Regions from separate parts of the Homo sapiens genome. Here region 2 is linked to region 1. Evidence: promoter capture Hi-C in human tissues and cell types (Jung and others, 2019). All regions are on one chromosome and are shown on one strand. Each heading gives the region's core, a stretch centred on a gene start or on the middle of the fragment in contact. The rest is flanking DNA. Distances are from core to core; before and after follow the strand shown. Region 1 holds the start of RBM43 (RNA binding motif protein 43). Region 2 has its middle 52 kb from the start of LINC01931.

Region 1 (4,035 bases), core at 954-3,453:
ATTGAAAATTTAAATATGGTTACAAAAAAACAGAAATGCTCAACCCTGTCAATGTAAGAATAAAGGCAGGGCCATCATATCAGAAAGCAAAAAAGGCATAAAGAAAAACTTTATTTTTCTAAGTGAAGCACTAGGGAGAAATAGAAGATTCACTCACTGCATTTGTTTTTATTTCTTTTGGGAGATCTTTTTCTTTTCTTGTTTTTTGTTTGTTTGTTTGTTTTGAGATGGAGTCTAGCTCTGTCACCTACGCTGGAGTGCAGTGGCGCGATCTTGGCTCACTGCAACCTCCACCTCCCGGGTTCAAGCGATTCTCCTGCCCCAGCCTCCTGAGTAGCTGGGACTACAGGCATCAGCCACCATGCCCGACTAATTTTTGTATTTTTAGTAGAGATGGGGTTTCACCATGTTGACCAGGCTGGTCTCAAACTCCTGACCTCGTGATCCGCTCCCCCCTCGGCCTCTCGAAGTCTTTTTTTTTTTTTAGACAGCGCCTCGCTCTGTTGCCCAGGCTGGAGAACAATGGCGTGATCTTGGCTCCCTGCAACCTCCGCCTCCTGGGCTCAAGTGATCCTCCCACCTCAGCCTCCCCAGTAGCTGAGACTACAGGTGGATGCCATCACGCCCAGCTAATTTTTGTATTTTTAGTAGAGACTCCTGACCTCAAGTGATCCGCCCTCCTTCGCCTCCCAAAGTGCTGGGATTACAGGCGTGAGCCACCGTGCCGGGCAGGGAGATCATTTTCTGCACCCCAACAATATCAAAGAAAAACATGCAATCAATTTAAACTCAGGAAATCTTACTTCAGCTCTATGCCCTCATTAGTACTAATACCATATTTCTTTATTCGAATGTCTACTGGTAATTTATCTTTAAAATCAAAGAAACTTCTCCCTGAACCAGTATTTTTAGAAGAAAAAAACATAAAGATGTAAATTTTGTTTGGTAAGAACTAGTTTCTATGAATCATCTAATGAATTAGTACTTCAATGACTTGCCAATATTTGTCCTTAACTCCCTTTCATAGGTTGGAGAAAGTATGGCTAACATAGATAATTTTACTGAGGTCAATTATGAATAATGAGGGTTGTTCATCTCTTCTACCCACGATTAAGATAAAGAAATGCCTAGAGAAAGACAGTCCTTTCAAGGACTTTGAAACGAGCAGCTTTTAGCCAAGACATACTAACGTGATGGCGCATTTCCTTGCATCAGTATTGTGTTATAACAGACTTGGCCATCTTATCAGAAAGCAAAAAGTATATAGCAAAACTTTACTTTTGTAAGTAAGGCATTGGGAAGAAACAGAAGATTCATTGACTGCATTTGTTTATATTGATTTTCTCAAAATCAGTTGTTTATTTTCAATGACGACGCCTCTACCGCCACCAGGTCAACAAAAACGTACTTGCTTTTGCATTTCCGGGACTCTAGCATTTCAGAGCAGGAATTAAAGGCCTTGCCAAGGCTTTTAAGCGATTGATGGAAACAAAACAAAACACAGAAGGATAAATTTTGAATTTGCTAAGACAAGAATTCGCACCAAGGCAGACATAAGACATGAGGATGTCTTCCTGACTTGCGTCCTTGGCTCGAATCGTTCTTATTAGCCCTTTTCAAAAGGCAGCTGTGACCTCCATTTCTGGCTAATCAGGCCACTTTTGTTCCCCCCGAGGCGTGGGAGGACAACAGTTAAGCCCTAACAGCCTGCGAAGCAGCTCCTCGACGAACGGCGGCGTCCCCGTCGCCTGGGCAGTGGGTGTGGGAGGTGACAGCCTAGTCCTGAGCCTCTGGAGCGGGCCTATACTGCACCGCCGTACGTGAATTTCAGGAGCGCGCAATGCCGCCACCTGGGAAGGGTGCAGCGAGGCTGACCTGAGTTTGCCCGCCGGGGTGGACGGCTCTCCGGGGCCCCCGGGGTCCCTGGGGCCCCTCCGTGCGCCGCCCCCTCCCGCGCAGCCCTGCACCCTGGCCCGTCGCGCCCGGTTCCGCGCCCTTCTAGGGGACCATGGCGACGGTACAGGCACGGACCTGCACCGCAAAACCCAAAGCAAAAGCAACTTGCCATGGCGGAGGGGAGACGCGCCCTCAGCGGCCGCAGAAAGCCCACAACCAGCGGAACGCAGGCGATGGGGAGAGGAGCGAGCAGGCAGGTTTTGGTTTCGTTTTTTGTTCCAGCTCCCTTGGAGGCTACGAAGAAAAGGGCGGTCCTTCCACCCGATCCGGCTGTTCTGCGACCTCGTGGCCTCTGAGTGGGAGCTCGGACTCAGGAGTGCTGTTGCCAGCGCCTGCCCAGACGCCCTCCGTAGTTTTGCAACTTGTGGAAGCACTCTGGAGAGAGGCCGAGAGGATTCCTCGACAGGAAATTTGGGAATTCTCTGGGTGATGCATCAGTGATTGCAATTTTGTTTTTACCCGTTTTGCTAAGCAGCAGCAACAACGGCAGAGTTGATTTAAAAAAAGAAAAAACGCAAAAAGGGAAAACACATAGTAGGTGGTGGCCGCTTCCTGTGTTGATACTGGGGGGCTACGCTTTTCCTAACATCAATCATCTCGTAGTTGCAGAGAGCCCTAGATGTCATGATAGTTTTGAATCGCATGCATTATCATGTAAGGGAGTTAAATATCTTGCATGCATGCTCTCTTCTGTGTTTATATATTCGATGCCATGAAATTGAAGGGCATGTGGCTAAAACCTTTTTACTACATGAAACTTTACAACACTTTTGAAAACATTTCAATTTGGTTGATGCGCACTGTAATATTTCTCCAGATAACTGTCCAAAATTTTCCATGGAGAAGGCTTTTATCCTCATTAGTTGCTGGCCTCAAACTAACCATCTAGGATATTAAACTTCTGCCAGAATTTTACATCCAGCTACCTTTACTTTTTAGAACGTATTCTCTATCATGTTATTGATATCAATTTCTACTTCACACAGATGGTTTTTTACAACAGCAAATCAAGTTTTTCTAACATCAGTTTTAAAAAGCCCTGCACTCAGTGAAATCTGGATGTCTTTCCTACGCCCTTATTATCTGTCCAGACTTCTTCCCCTTCCCCCACCGCTCACCTGGGCCTTTTCCTCTGCACAACCTACCCCAGTTCCCCAACCCCCACCTCAACCCCCAACGCCGTGTTGGTCACCTTCCCAGCCCAGACCAGGAGCCCTCTTGGACCTCTGCCGGGTGCTAAGGACACAGGATGAGAGCGCCAGGTCCCTGCCAGCAGAGAGCTCACCACCTTGTCCATGCCTTAGCACAGGAACCCCGAATGGCGCCTGTGGGGACACAGGGAATCTCTGGACAAACTTCAAAATCAAATCAATGAATGCATGAAGAACAAAGGTAGATGGCTAGCAGATATGAAGAAACCCAATCCCACTCCTAAGAAATGTAAATTGAAATAATAAGATACCATTTTTCACAACTAGATCTGCAAAACCAGAAAGTGTTAGCCTGAATGTAAGCATCAGAGTTGCTGCAAGCATAGATGGATGCAAATACTTCTAAAGATTTTTATCAAAATGTAAAGTGCAAAAAAATGTAAAATGCACATATTCTTAGTCTCAGCAATTCTACTTTTAGAACTGAACTTGAAGTTATAGTGCGCAAATGGCACTAAGATATTGTATAGAAATTTTAGTTGTACATTGCTTGAAATACAGGTAGTAATAATTTTTTTATAAACTGGGATCCACCTAGTTTATCATTGGATGGAGCTATTTGTTATACGGCTGATGATATATCAGTAAGGCACAAGGCTATGAAGATTTTAAAACAGAATGAGGTAGGGGGAAGTGGCTCCCGCCTGTATTCCCAGAACTTTGGGAGGCCAAGGTGGGCGGATCATTTTGAGCTCAGGAATTCAAGACCAGCTTGAGCAACATGGTGAAACCCGTCTGTACTAAAAATACAAAAATTAGCCGGGCGTGGTGGCACACACCTGTAATCTCAGCTACTCGGGAGGCTGAGGCTAGAGAATCGCTTGAACCCGGGAGGCAGAGTGAGCCAAGATCACACCACTGCACTCCA
Region 2 (4,190 bases), core at 1,121-3,620, 1.4 Mb before region 1:
ACTGCTGGGAAAATGTACTCTGTATATAAAGAAAATACAAACATTTTTTCTGGATCATTGTAAAGCAGTAATGGTTTAATAGTTTCCTCTGTGGGTCACAGACATGCTTCACTAGAATTAAGTTTTCTGTCTACATAAGGGGCTGATGAAACTCTCTTGTTTGTATCTCTCTAGGTCTTTTCTCTCAAACTACAAACCTCAATTAGATATCTGCCATGTACAAGGCAGTACGAGTAGATTTAAAGACAATTACACCATGGTTGCTATCCTAGAAAATGTTCACAATTTAGACAGGGAGATAAGGTAAACACTGTGTTGGAGGTTCCCCAAACCACTCCCAGTTTTGGTGATTTGCTAAGAGAACTCACAGGATGCAGTATACAGTCATATTCACTGCTACGATTTATTACAGTGAAAGGACACAAAGTAAAATTTACTAAAGCAAAAGGTGGGTGGAACAAAGTCAAGAGGCAATCACACACAAGCTTCCATGAGTCCTCTCCAGTGCAGTCACCCAGGATGTGCTTAATTTCTCCAGTGATAAATTGGGACAATGTCCCTGATATGCCTACCAGGGAAAATCATTCAGGACACAGTGCCCAGGGTTTTCATGTGAGGTAAGTCTGGTAGGCACCCCCTGCCTAGCACATTCCAAAATCCCTGATTCCCAGAAGGAAATCAGGTGTTCAGTATTAACTACACTGCTCACACAGTTTGGGCGCAGTGAGCCACTCTTCTCAGCTAGGAATGGTGGCAGTGTTTCTGAAATCCAAGTTTCCAGATGCCAGTCAAGGGCGAAGCTTGCAAGCAGGTTTTTCTAAGGATAGCCATTTCAGGCCTGCTATATTATCTCTTTTCTGCACAAAACCATATTGTCTTAATTTTGGGAGGCCAAGGTGGGCAGATCACTTGAACACAGGAGTTTGAGACCAGCCTGGGCAACATGAAAAAACGCTGTCTCTATAAAATATACAAAAAATTAGCCAGGCATGGTAACACATGCCTGTAGTCCCAGCTACTTGGGAAGCTGAGGTGGGAGGATAACAGGAGCCTGGGAGGTTGAGATTGCAGTGAGCTGTGATCACGCCGTTGCACACCAGCCTGGGCAATGAAGTGACACCAATCTCAAAAACAAAAAAACAAAAAAACAAAAAAACAAAAAAAAAACCCGCATACTTTAAGAGAATTAAAAACAGTATAGGAATTAAGTAAAAGATAAATATATGAGGAAATATTGGCAGTAGGAGAGGTATGTAGATCAATGTAACAGAATAATGACTCTAAAAATAGACCTAGAAGTTTCAGAGTGATTCAATAGGGAAAAGAATAGTCTTTCAATAAATGGTGCTAGAATAATTGGACATTTGTATGGAAAATTACGACCTCCCTTCTTACCTGGTATCATATATAAAAATAAACTCAAAACGAATGAGACCACCATATAAGAATTAAAACAATAAAATTCCCTAAAAAAAATACACACAAAAAATTTTGTGATATTGGTTAGGCAAACATTCCTTAGCAAGAAATGCTAAGAAATGAATGAACTACTAAAGAAAAAAGATAATGTGGACTTCATCAAAATTAAAACTTCAGCTCTTGAAAGACACTGCAAGGAAATTTGAAAAGGCAAACAACTAGAATTGCAGAAAATATTAGCAAACACACAATAATATCTATATTGTGCAGGAAAACTTTCCTTAGAAATTTACAACTCAAGAAGATGATGCGATTAAAAACCTGCAAAAGAGGAAAAGAGAGAAGAATCAAAAAGACACAATAAAAATGTTAAAGGGGATATCACCACTGATCCCACAGAAATAAGAACTACCATCAGAGAATACTATAAACACCTCTATGTAAATAAACTAGAAAATCTAGGAGAAATGGATAAATTCCTGGACACATACACCCTGCAAAGACTAAACCAGGAGGAAGGTGAACCCCTGAATAGACCAAAAACATGTTCTGAAATTGAGGCAGTAATTAATAGAATAGCCTATCAACCAAAAACAAACAAAAAAAGCCCAAGACCAGACGGATTCACAGCTGAATTCTTCCAGAGGTACAAAGAGGAGCTGGTACCATTCCTTCTGAAACTATCCCAAACAATAGAAAAAGAGGGACTCCTCCCTAACTCATTTTATGAGACCAGCATCATCCTGATACCAAAACCGGGCAGAGATATAATAAAAAAAGAAAATTTCAGTCCAATATCCCAGATGAACATTGATGCAAAAATCCTCAATAAAATACTGGCAAACTGAATCCAGTAGCACATCAAAAAGCTTATCCACCACAATCAAGTCTGCTTCATCCCTGGGATGCAAGGCTGGTTCAACATATTCAAATCAATAAACGTAATCCATCACATGAACAGAACCAATGACAAAAACCACATGATTATCTCAATAGATGCAGAAAAGACCTTCGATAAAATTCAACATCCCTTCATGCTACAAACTCTCAATAAACTAGGTATTGATGGAACATATCTCATAAGAGCTATTTATGACAAACCCATAGCCAGTATCATACTGAATGGGCAAAAGCTGGAAGCATTCCCTTTGAAAACCAGCACAAGACAAGTATGCCCTGTCTCACCACTTCTATTCAATGCAATATTGGAATTTCTGGCCAGGGCAATCAGACAAGAGAAAGAAATAAAGGGTATTCACATCGGAAGAAGAAAGTCAAGTTGTCTCTGCTTGAAGACAACATGATTCTATATTTAGAAAACACCATTGTTTCAGCCCAAAAACTCCTTAGGCTGATGAGCAACTTCAGCAAAGTCTCAGGATACAAAATTAATGTGCAAAAATCACAAGCATTCCTATACACCAATAATAGACAAGCAGAGAGCCAAATCATAAGTGAACTCCCATTCACATGTGCTACAAAGAGAATAAAATACCTAGGAATAAAACTTACAAGGGACATGAAGGATCTCTTCAAGGAGAGCTACAAACCACTGCTCAAGGAAGTAAGAGGACACAAACAAATGGAAAAACATTCCATGCTCATGGATAGGAAGAATCAATATTGTAAAAATGGCCATACTGCCCAAAATAATTTATAGATTCAATGCTATTCCAATCAAGCTACCAGTGACTTTCTTCACAGAATTAGAAAAAACTACTTTAAATTTCATGTGGAACCAAAAAAGAACCTGTATAGCCAAGACAATCCTAAGCAAAAAGAACAAAGCTGGAGGCATCACACTACCTGACTTAAAACTATACTACAACAATATAGTAACCAATACAGCATGGTACTGGTACCAAAACAGATATACAGAGCAATGTAACAGAACAGAATCCTCAGAAATAACACCACACATCTACAACCATCTGATCTTTGACAAACCTGACAAAAACAAGTGATGGGGAAAGGATTCCCTGTTTAATAAATGGTGTTGGGAAAACTGGCTAGCCATGTGCAGAAAACTGAAACTGGACCCCTTCCTTACACCTTATACAAAAATTACTCAGGATGGATCAAAGACTTAAATGTAAGAACTAAAACCATAAAAACCCTAGAAGAAAACCTAGGCAATACAATTCAGGACATAGGCATGGGCAAAGACTTCATGACTAAAACACCAAAATCAATGGCAACAACTGACAAATGGGATCTAATCAAACTGAAGATCTTCTGCATAGTAAAATAAACAATTATCAGAGTGAACATGTAACCTACAGAATGGGAGAAAATTTTTGCAATCTATCCATCTGACAAAAGGCTAATATCCAGAATCCACAAGGAACTTCAACAAATTTACAAGAAAAAAAAAATCCCATCAAAAAGTGGGTGAAGGATACGAACAGACACTTCTCAAAAGAAGACATTTATGTGGCCAACAAATATATGAAAAAAACTCATGATCACTGGTCATTAGAGAAATGCAAATCAAAACCAATGATTTTGATGATGAGATACCATCTCATTCCAGTGAGAATTCTGATTATTAAAAAGTCAGGAAACAACAGATGCTGGCTAGGCATTGGAGAAATAAGAATGCTTTTACACTGTTGGTGGTAGTATAAATTAGTTCAACCATTGAAGAAGACAGTGTGGCAATTCCTCAAGGTTCTACAACCAGAAATACCATTTGACCCAGCAATCTCATTAGTGGTCATATACCCAAAGGATTATAAATTATTCTACTATAAAGACACATGCACATGTGT

The links. Contacts are between HindIII fragments. The study calls those that stand out against the background at their distance.
Region 2: a fragment that was not itself captured here is called in contact with the fragment with the promoter of RBM43 in region 1 in 1 of the 25 tissues and cell types used here (dorsolateral prefrontal cortex).

What each region holds. Positions count from the first base shown.
Region 1 is chr2:151,259,660-151,263,694 of GRCh38, forward strand. It overlaps RBM43 (RNA binding motif protein 43), which reads right to left and starts at 2,204. Exons shown (of 4, transcript NM_198557.3): 1 at 2,066-2,204. The coding sequence starts at 2,068. RefSeq lists a silencer at 1,748-2,017 and an enhancer at 2,058-2,287. The HindIII fragment of the contact is 11,595 bases long and covers 1-4,035 here.
Region 2 is chr2:149,909,166-149,913,355 of GRCh38, forward strand. No RefSeq gene overlaps it. Among named protein-coding and RNA genes, the nearest start is that of LINC01931, 52 kb to the left of the region's middle. The HindIII fragment of the contact is 4,284 bases long and covers 229-4,190 here.